Regions from separate parts of the Homo sapiens genome. Here region 1 is linked to region 2. The links are contacts of gene promoters, found by promoter capture Hi-C in blood cells and fetal thymus (Javierre and others, 2016). All regions are on one chromosome and are shown on one strand. The core of a region is centred on a gene start or on the middle of the fragment in contact, and the rest is flanking DNA. Distances in the headings are between cores, read along the strand shown.

What was found. The method cuts DNA at HindIII sites, captures the fragments that hold promoters and counts their contacts. A CHiCAGO score of 5 or more calls a contact.
Region 1: a contact is called between a fragment that was not itself captured here and the fragment with the promoter of TGFBR2 in region 2, in 4 of 17 cell types (total B cells, non-activated CD4 T cells, monocytes and 1 more). The highest score is 10.2, in total B cells.

What each region holds. Positions count from the first base shown.
Region 1 is chr3:31,229,998-31,235,510 of GRCh38, forward strand. No RefSeq gene overlaps it. Among named protein-coding and RNA genes, the nearest start is that of MIR466, 71 kb to the left of the region's middle. The HindIII fragment of the contact is 7,716 bases long and covers 1-5,108 here.
Region 2 is chr3:30,604,235-30,609,625 of GRCh38, forward strand. It overlaps TGFBR2 (transforming growth factor beta receptor 2), which reads left to right and starts at 2,367. Exons shown (of 7, transcript NM_003242.6): 1 at 2,367-2,743. The coding sequence starts at 2,650. It overlaps LOC105377015 (translation initiation factor IF-2-like), which reads right to left and starts at 2,690. Exons shown (of 2, transcript XM_047449400.1): 1 at 1,912-2,690; 2 at 165-1,324. The coding sequence starts at 2,690. The coding sequence ends at 2,250. RefSeq lists a silencer at 2,441-2,540. The HindIII fragment of the contact is 4,009 bases long and covers 433-4,441 here.

The DNA.
Region 1 (5,513 bases), core at 1-2,500, 620 kb after region 2:
GTTAATGAGTACAAAAAAAACATAGAATGAATAAGACCTAGTATTTAATAGCACAACAGGCTGACTATATTTGACAATAATTTAATTGTACATTTTAAAATAACTAAAATAGTATAATTGGATTGTTATAACACAAAGGATAAATGCTGAGGAGATAGATACCCCAATATCCATGATGTGATTATTAAGCATTGCACGCCTATATCAAAAGAACTCATGTACTCCATAAATACATACACCTGCTATATACTCACAAAAAATTAAAAATAAATTTAAGAAAATTATTAATAGTTTCAAGACAGTAACAGAAGAGCAAGAACCCAAGCACTGAGCCCTTCTAAGTGTAGGACCTCACACCCATGAAGCCAGCTTTGATGGTGCATGCCCCATACTTTGTATATTACAGAGAAGGCAAGCATCCAAGGGAATGAGTACATGTGAACACCCTGTAGGAAACTTGAAGGGAAGTATGGAGGGCCATCAATGCTACCTGAGGCAGGAAACAAAGCCAAAGTATGGGACTAATAATTCTACGTCATACTGATGAGAAGAACCACAAGACAGTCAGGTCAGATACAATAATGAGGCATGTGGCTGGAACTATTGCCTGGAACTGTTTGTGATTTCGTTTTAGAAAACCAGTTTCCTGTTTTTTAAATAGTCAAAGTTAGAGTTGAAGAAGATGAAGGAGATAGTAATGTCATGACCTGATATATCTGGCAGCATCCTAGCAAGAAACATCCAGGGTGCTTAAAGATATAGCTGCAGAAAGTTTACTAAAGGGACAATACACAGAAAAGTGTAGGCAGGGTTACAAGCACCAAAAGGGACAATCACACAGAAGCACTAACAACAGCAGGAAGCTGTTACCAGCCCTAGACCTGAAGGGGCAAGGGGAGGCAGTGGTTATTGGAACTTAGAAAGGACTGAACTCCTGGGAGAGGGCAGGCTCACAGGAGCCAAGACCTTAGGGGAAGAAATGCAGTCACTGCCAAACCACAGCCCAGTAGGGAAGGGGCAGGAATAATAAATGCATCAACTTATTTATCTTCCCAGGACCTCCCATTGACAGAACCCAACCCAGAACAGGAGGGCAATAGATCCTGGATGACGCAGCCCAGAAGTCAGCCTCCTGGGGCACAGAGCAGGGAGGACAAGGAGGGAGATGGGCCTGGAGGGCACCTGGAAATTAATCAGCACATCTGGTGACATGTATCTGTGGAGGTGCTGGGGAGTGTGTGAGACTATTGGGGGTGAGGGTCAGGGGGCAGCGGTGGGGTCAGTGGGGGGTGGGGGGGAGGCGGGGCGGTATTTAAGAGAGTAGCTGATTGCACCCAGATTTTGGACTAGGCAAACTGGGTGAAAAATGACTCCATTCACTGAGCTGGGGAATTCAGAAGAGGAACATCTGGGGGAGGAGTTTTGGCTGTGCCATGTTTGGAGGCATAAAGGACATCCAGGGAACAGAGTAATCAGGACTGGCACTATAGAACTGGAGGTCATGGATCTGTAAGAGGCAGTTGAAGTCAGTGGGAAGACCAAGGACAAAGATCCAGCAACACCAACATGCAAAAGGAAATTGGGGGGAAACTAAGGAGTGGCCAGATGGGTAAGAAGAAACTGAAAAGAGTTGTTGGAGGGAGGGGGGGCAGGGTGGAAATATTCAGCCAAGATAATTTCCAGAGGGAGTGAGCCTTAAGTCATTGTACAAGAAGCCATTAAGTGGAATCCTGCATTGCATAGGTGTCTGGATAAGATGACCCCTTAGCCACGTCCCATCCCTGTGTTTCCACTATGATCAGAGATGAAGTAGAGCAGCAGTTCTCAGCTACCCCCTACCAAAGTTCCCAGTCTGCCCCAAAGACGGAAGGCAATGCCTCAAACACCACAATCCCCAACTTGGAGAAACCACCTCTGGCTTCCAACCCTCCTTGCCACCAATCTCTCAGTTTCTTCTGAAGCCAGCACAGAGGGATTAGCTGAGAAGGTTTGTGTTGAGGGGAATGGAGGCCCAAGAGAAAATAGGAGGAAATGAATCTCCCTTGGAATCCTTGAGGCAAATCAGGGCTAACACTCCAGCCACAAGCTGCAGTAAGTTTGGCCTGCTGGTCAGCTATGCAGGACAGATAGCAAAGAAGCCAACTCCTCTTGTCAGCCCCGAGCAGATGCCGAAGTTCTTCTGCAGACCCAGCTCTCTGCTACCTGCCAGTCCACGCTGCTGTCCCTCTCCACCCTTGTACTACCCTCTTCAGCCACACAACCAAATTCTGTGATTTCCTCTCTCCAGGGCATGTTTGCCCTCATCTGACTTGATGTTGAGGGTGTAGTCCCATGAGAAACTAAAGGGAAATAAGGTTAGAGAGAGCTTCCTCTGACCCTCCGCCCTCACCCCACCCCTCACGGCCAGGACAGCCCCATGCCCAGGTGTCACACAGAGGCCCCCCTCCAGCTCCCCTGCATGCCCTCGGTCTCTTTTTCAGGGAAAGCCATGGTTGAGCTGACAATCCTGCCTCTGAAAAGCCTTAAGTGCTTCCTAGAAGATGCATCTGACTTTCACCAACACTAGTGGCTAGCACTTCCGCTTCCACAACCCTGTTGCCTCTCCAGGAAAAGCCTCTTTAACCAAGACCGCCTTAAGCCACTAGCCGAATGAGGCCAGTTCCTCTCAGCTACTTCTCATTTGCCTTCTGCCTGCCCTGTCAATGGCATTTGCCAGTGCTCAGTTAATGTTTCTGGAACTCTGGAACTACAGTTTTCTTATTCACTGAGGTAGCCAAACTAGAGTGCTTCCCAAAAGCGCTTCTTCTGACTCTCTACTAAAACTGTCTTTAATCGTCTTGCCTGAAAGTCATGGTACAATACCAGATGCTTCAGGGAGAAATGACTCATAACCCCTTCCCTTAAGAAGCTCATAGTCTTGGGGGAGAGACAGGGAAGTGCGCAGTAACTCCATTAGAAGTTATATGAGGAAGTATGAAAAGATTACAGAGGAGGAAGCCATTAAATCCAACTAGAAACTGTTATTTCAATAACAGCTACATTTAATACTGAAATCCTGCTATTATGCACCAGACTATGTATTAGCTAACTCTTACACCCCATGATGTAGCCAGTCTTATTAGCCTCGTTGTATACATAAGGGAGACAAAGAAAGGAAACTTACCAAAGGCTACAGGACACCAAGTAAATGACACTGGATGCAGACAAACCCCTCCCACTCCAAAACCTGTGTTTATTACCATAGTAGACAGTAACTGGACCAACACTGGCATTTACTGAACACTAGACACTGCCCCATGCATTTAACACACATAAAATTTGGCCAGGTGCGGTGGCTCACGCCTGTAGTCCCAGCACTTTGGGAGGCCAAGGCGGGCGGATCACGAGGTCAGGAGATCGAGACCATCCTGGCTAACATGGGGAAACCCGTCTCTACTAAAAATACAAAAAATTAGCCGGGCTTGGTGGCGGGTGCCTGTAGTCCCAGCTGCTCCGGAGGCTGAGGCAGGAGAATGGCCTGAACCCGAGAGGCGGAGCTTGCAGTGAGCCGAGATCGCGCCACTGCACTCCAACCTGAGAGACAGAGCGAGACTCCATCTCAACAACAACAACAACAAAAATACACAGTGAAGAAGGTATTACTTCAATTCTCCTTTTGCAAATAAGACACTGAGGTTCAGAGAAGTTATGTAACTTGTTCAAGATCTCACAGAAGCCAGAATTCAAATGCAGACCATAATTACCACACAATTTGGCCACCCTGTTTAGAAGACATAACGTGTGAATGACACCATAAAGGCTGTTAGAAAAGAAATATGTTTTCTTAGTTTGAGTTCCTCCCAATAGCATGACCTGAGACAAGAATCTAGATGCAGGTAGGTTATTTCTAAGGTGATCCCAAGGAGCAAAGAATGGGGTACAGCAACAGAAAAAAAAAAAGACAAAATAAAGGTTTATTGTGGGGGTTGCCACTGTGCTCTCACAAGGAGAGGTGAAAGAGCATTTCCCCAGAGTTCTTCTGCCCCCTCTCCAATGATGTATGGGTCTTCTGAGCTCCCTCAGGCATCCCTGGTATCAGGGAATCCCTGGGACAGAAAGCAGAAATATAAGATATGTGCTGGAAGCCAGACACTCTGGGCAGGAAGCACAAAGCTGGGCTCTGAACTGTGCACCCCAGCCACAGCTAAAGTCAGAGGTGATGTGGCAAGCATAAGAGTCTAGCTCCCAGCTGTACCTGCCTCACAAGGGGGCAATGCAGTGGGAGGGGACACTTCACACGCAGCAGGCGGCAGGACTAGGGCAGGAGCGTGAGAGCCATGCATGTTCTACCATGCACTTATGAAACGTTCCATTGCTCCTCTACTGTATCCCCAGCAACCTCCACCGCACTGGGTTTACAACTCTCCTCTTGAAATTATAGAAATAAACTCTCGGTCAGTGCAGTAAGCTGAAGTGAAGCAACCCTTGATTCCAGAGGCCAGAGGCAGCTTCCCCTTTCTTCTATCCAACCATGAAAAAGCAGTCCTCTGCCTTGTGCAGTGGTATTGCTGGCTCTCAGTCACTAGTATTTTCTGAGGCTAGCAGTATAGAATTGCAGTTGAATGCTTGAACTCTGTGTGTCCTTGGGCAAGTTATTAACCTCTCTGAACCTCAGTTTGTTTCATCTCTAAAGAAAGACACAGATACTTACCTAGTAGAGTTGGGTGAGGATTAGATGATATTCTGGCTGTGATGCATTTAGCACAGTACGTGGGGTATAGTGAGCATTTAATCAAGAATTGTTGTGCATATTTTAACATTTCTGAGTCAATTCACTTCAGCATCAAAGGGGAGAACTAGAGGCAGTTACTTATCATTTAAAGAAAGAGGATAATATAATGCAGACAGTGCTAGACTTGCTGGGTGAAAGATTTCATTTTCCAGCTTTAGGATCTTAGGGCCAGTAATCTCTCTGAATTTGGGTTTTTCTATCATAAGTGGAGATAACCATTTTTTTCTACCTCAAAACATTGTTGAGGCTCAATGGTGATCACAAATGTAAAATGCTTGTAAACCCTAATGTGATATAAAAATGTTATTATTGTGATTATCATAATGATAAGAATCAAAGCTTCACTCTCCCCAGCACAAGTATATACTCGCTCTGTGAGACTGACTGCTCCTCAGTTGCTGGAACAAGAGCAAGGCATTTTCACCCTAAGGTCACTGCCATTGGAGGGAGTGTGTGATTAATATCAGAGACACTCTGTAACAGCTGCTCAGGGTGAGCCACTCATACCATCAGTGTCAAGGGCTGGGCTGCTAATTTATTTATGTATGAAGATGACAACCAGGGAAAGCAATTAGGACTTGGGCATCTGTTGTGATCCTCTCTCGCTGGACCTGTGGCAGTGGGGCACCACAAAAACCTTAACAACAGTTGCTAACTGCTAAGTACCATCCTTCTGCATTGGCTCAGGATCACTGACTCTTTATTTGCCAAACAAGTCATATTTGTGCTCCAATCCCTTGTC
Region 2 (5,391 bases), core at 1,117-3,616:
GAAAAAAAAAAGAAGAAGAAAGAAACCCACATACTTCTCCATTCTTAAGAAAAGGAAGTAGTGGTGACATCATTCTCGGCTAAAATGTAGTCTGTTTATATCTCAAATATTCGGTAACAATGTTTTCTCCAGAGTTATGAAGCAACTAGAACAATCAAATACAATTTTCTTCTAAATCTTTATTGCCTGATTCATTCATTCATCCAACAAATATTTATTAAACATCGATTATGTGTTTGATGCTTAGGGACACAATAGTAAGTGGAGGGAAAGATACATAATACCTGCCCTCAAGAAATTTGGAGTTGAGTGGAGGATAGAAATATAAATTAAAGAATGACACAAATAATTATAAAGTTACAGCTGTTAAAAGAAAAGCATATGGTGCCAAGAGAACGTGTAATACAAGATCTACTCATGGAGGTGAGGGAAAGCTTGCCCATCAAAGAAGTTATGATTCAATCCACGAAGACCAGGAGTTGGCTGGGTGAAGAAAAAAAGGTCAGAGGAAGGAAGTCCACACTGGGGAAGGCTCTAAGCATAAAGGGTAGGAGGATTACAGAGGCATATTCACGAAATTTGGAGAAGGCTTTCAGTAAGCAAGGAGAAGCCAAATGAAAGTTTACGGGAGAGTTGGAGGCTTGAAGACACGTTCAAGGATCTGGTTTTTATCTTCTCTTTATCTCAAGAGCAGTGGGAAGCCATTAAATGATTTTAATCAGAGGGTTGGTATAACTAGTTTTGTATTTTGAAAAGCTGAATTCAGCTCTCGTTTGAGAAACTGAGTGAAAGAGCCCAGAACGGCCGTGGCTGAGGGTGACTCGTGGGAGACTCCTACACAAGCCATGGCAGTGGCATGGGCTGGTGGCAGAAGAGGGAATAGGGAGAAGATTTGGAACTCAATCTTCCTCCATTGACAAAGTCACTCCAGCTTTGGCAAGGCAATTAATTGGTGGGAAAGAAGATGCCTAGCCCTCCTGATTTCACTGCACTTTCTGCATCTTCAACATGAGTACTGGGAAGTGGCAAAACATCCAGAGGCAGCTTGGGTGCTAGGTGGAGCATGAGTTAAAATTCCAGGATGAAGCAAATGAACACTTAGAATGACAGGAAAGATTTGGGAGTTGGGTTTGGGGGAGGGCTATTTACCTTTATTCCCTGGAGACCCTGGCACAAACCCTTGCCTCTGCAATCTTCCTCTCAGGTAAAGGAATTCATTAAATGAATTGCTAGAAGATCTACTGACCAGAGGGCTGTACAGAATCATATCTTTGAGAGTGGGAAGTAGGTTGATCACATAGTTTATTATCCAATCAGGACATATCTGAAAGAGAAAGGGGGTTCTATTAATATTTAAACTACAAAACATGTACACCAGGAATGTCTTGGGCAAATCTGGTTGCCCTAGCAAGAAAGGAAATTTGAAAGTTTATACTGTTCTGCTCCCATGTTACCCCGTTTGCACATGAGAGGGTAAGTATTCTCTTTCTTCACCTGCATTAAGGGAATAAAAGCACAAGCATTCAGGTGACTCCCAACCCACTTTTAATTTTACAGTTTCTGCTATACTCTATACATTCTGAAAATTACATTTCCCACCACTATCACTTCGTGATAGGTGATCATTTACAATTACTCACTGACTCAGTCCCGGGAAGAGGCGGTGCAAAATGGGACGCTCTATCCAGGTGCTCATTAGAAATGCAGAATCTCTGCCTGCCTCCTAGACCTACTGAATTAGAATCTGCATTTTTAAATAAGATTTCCAGGTGATCAATATGTACATTAAAACTTGAGAAAAACCTCTAGACTTCGACCTAAAGAAAAACATTTTACAACTTGACAGTGTATGCACATACATACATGCATATAGACACAACTGAAGCACAAATTTAATGAAGTAGAATTTACCGTTACTATTTTATTTGGGAAAGAAATGTGCTCGCGACTCAATAGATTGGAGTATTCACTCCTGGATCTCAACTTGCAATTTGAAAACGCATCTCTAAAGCACCTAGGAGCAATCTGAAGAAAGCTGAGGGGAGGCGGCAGATGTTCTGATCTACTAGGGAAAACGTGGACGTTTTCTGTTGTTACTTTGTGAACTGTGTGCACTTAGTCATTCTTGAGTAAATACTTGGAGCGAGGAACTCCTGAGTGGTGTGGGAGGGCGGTGAGGGGCAGCTGAAAGTCGGCCAAAGCTCTCGGAGGGGCTGGTCTAGGAAACATGATTGGCAGCTACGAGAGAGCTAGGGGCTGGACGTCGAGGAGAGGGAGAAGGCTCTCGGGCGGAGAGAGGTCCTGCCCAGCTGTTGGCGAGGAGTTTCCTGTTTCCCCCGCAGCGCTGAGTTGAAGTTGAGTGAGTCACTCGCGCGCACGGAGCGACGACACCCCCGCGCGTGCACCCGCTCGGGACAGGAGCCGGACTCCTGTGCAGCTTCCCTCGGCCGCCGGGGGCCTCCCCGCGCCTCGCCGGCCTCCAGGCCCCCTCCTGGCTGGCGAGCGGGCGCCACATCTGGCCCGCACATCTGCGCTGCCGGCCCGGCGCGGGGTCCGGAGAGGGCGCGGCGCGGAGGCGCAGCCAGGGGTCCGGGAAGGCGCCGTCCGCTGCGCTGGGGGCTCGGTCTATGACGAGCAGCGGGGTCTGCCATGGGTCGGGGGCTGCTCAGGGGCCTGTGGCCGCTGCACATCGTCCTGTGGACGCGTATCGCCAGCACGATCCCACCGCACGTTCAGAAGTCGGGTGAGTGGTCCCCAGCCCGGGCTCGGCGGGGCGCCGGGGGTCTTCCTGGGGTCCCCGCCTCTCCGCTGCGCTTGACAGTCGGGCCCGGCAACCCGGCCCCCGGGCGGAAACGAGGAAAGTTTCCCCCGCGACACTCACGCAGCCCGACTCCCGTAGCTGCAGGGATTGTGAGTTTTTCTTGAAAAAGAGAAGGAAAGTTCAGTTGCAAGGGGCGCGGGGCACGTTTGGTCCCCTTTGTGCGAGCAGGAAAGGCGTTGTGTTGGCCGCGTTCGAGGCGAGCCCCCACCCCCGGAAAGGGAAGTTTGAGAAGTTGGTTATCTGAAGGCGGCCGGGGAGCAGCGGCCCGGAGCGGCAGCCTGAGCTGCCAAAGCAGCCAGCGCACCTGGGCCACTCCGCCCATGGCGATGCCGCGTGCCCACCCAGCTCTTTCTGAGCCACCCGTTCAAAAGGCCAGCTCCTCAGTCCTTAGCTCCTGGAGACGGCCACGCTTTCCCTCAGGCCGGCTTCTTGGCCCGGAGTTTTTGGAAACAAGTTTCAAGAAAATAATCGATTTCCAAAAGAAAGTTAGCTGGCTCCACTGACGCCTTGGCATGGATGGATAGGGAGTGGAGATGCTCAGGTGAAACCGAGAATCCCTCACTGAATGCCTACTGGGTGCTAGAGGCTGTAGATTTTGCCTGGAACAAGATAGTCCTGTCTTCAGGGAGTTGATGGTTCTATGCAATTATCGTTTGTTGGAAACCGAAGGGTTAAAATCCTAACTAGGCTACCCACCTGATCGCTGTCTCTGAAGGTTTTTAAGGAAAAAATAAAAATAAAAAAATATATATATATATTATATATATATAAATATATATATAATTATATATATAAATATATATAATATTAATATATATATGCATGCAGGAATGGGGGTTCTTAACTATTTGTTATGGAAAGTGTAAAACCTCTGAGACTTCAAAAGTTAGATTTTTTTTTTTTGGAGACGGAGTCTCGCTCTGTCACCAGGCTGGAGTGCAGTGGCGCAATCTCGGCTCACTGCAACTTTGCCTCTGGGTTCAAGCGATTCTCCTGCCTTAGCCTCCCGAGTAGCTGGGATTACAGGCGCGTGCCACCACGCCCAGCTAATTTTTGTATTTTTAGTAGAGACGGGGTTTCACCATATTGGCCAGGGTGGTCTCGATCTCTTGACCTCGTGATCCGCCCACCTTGGCCTCCCAAAGTGCTGGGATTACAGGCGTGAGCCACCGCGCCCGGCCAAAAGTTAGACTTTTTGCAGCTATGATCCAAATAACAGTATCTGCAGCTGTGGTCTGGGTAACCGAGTATTTGGGCAAGTCATAGAGCTTTTTCTGGGCCTTAGTTTCCTCATCTGTAAAATGGCCAGCTTGAATCTGGGTAATTTTACATCATCTTCATGTTTAACATCTTACGTATCGTGCCCCTCCCCTCCTTTCCCCTGGCTCTTCTGGTGACTTGGAGATGACCCATGTAGACTTTGGATGAAATGTAGAGGAGTTGACAGTCCACATCACCCGGAGGCACTCATTTTATTTATCCAGGGACATGGGCAGATTTACCTTTAGGTTTGTCTAGAAAAAATGCGCATCACGGTCAGTTGTAAATTTTAGAGTGTTTGAAGTGGATTGGGAACTTTTTAAAAATTATGGCATACATTGAAGGTGGCATGGAGATGGAAGCTTTTAATCAAATTAGGAAGAGGCACTATTGCAAGCAAAAAGTCTTGACACACATTTGAGTCCTATGGTTTTAATAAAATCTTAGTGTTTCGTTCTTGGCGTTTTTCCTGCATTGCAGTACCAGAATGTTCAATTGTCTCTCATTTTCCTCCAGACTTTTAAAACCTAAGTGACATTTTGCTAATAAATATTTAAAATGGCACCCTTAATTTTCTGTGGATGTTAAAAATCATTACAACTTTTGTTCCAGATTATAAAAGAAGGAAATTAGCAGGCCCTGATGTTGTTAGTTAGGTTCTGTTTACAAGGATAAGGTTTATGATTTGCAAATTCCAGACCCAATAGTTCACGAGTCACTTTCATTTCATCAATATACACACTTTTAAACAATTAGCTTAAAAACGTGGTGGCTTTTTATTTGGGTATTTAGACAGTTTTACAAGGCCCACAGATTTCATATTTTTATAGAACTGAAGTTTCAAAATGGTTGAATTAATGAATCATTTTGAATTTGTATTCATTTGATTCAAATTAAATTTTCAAAGTTGGCCAATGGTTGAAGACAGATATATTGAAGACGAGAAACCTAATTCTACTTACATTTTAATTTTTCATGTAAGTAAATAGTTTCAGAATTTCTCTAACGTAATTGGTAAACTGAAAACATTTTTTCAAAATATCTTAATGCAAGATAATATATCAGGTAATGAGATTGTTTAATAAACAACAAGCTCCTTTTACGTCACCTAAAAAGGCCCAAAAATCTGTCTTCTGTTTAGTAGCTTCTGTACTTCTGTTTAGTAGTATGCAAAGGATTTAAATAAAAGAACAAATTTCACTAAGAAATAGAAAGTTTTTTTTTCTTCGTTTTTGACTTAATAGATTCACTCTTCCTAAATGATCAAAATTAAGAAATGACTCTTTTGGGGAAAACTGTAAAGTGCACAA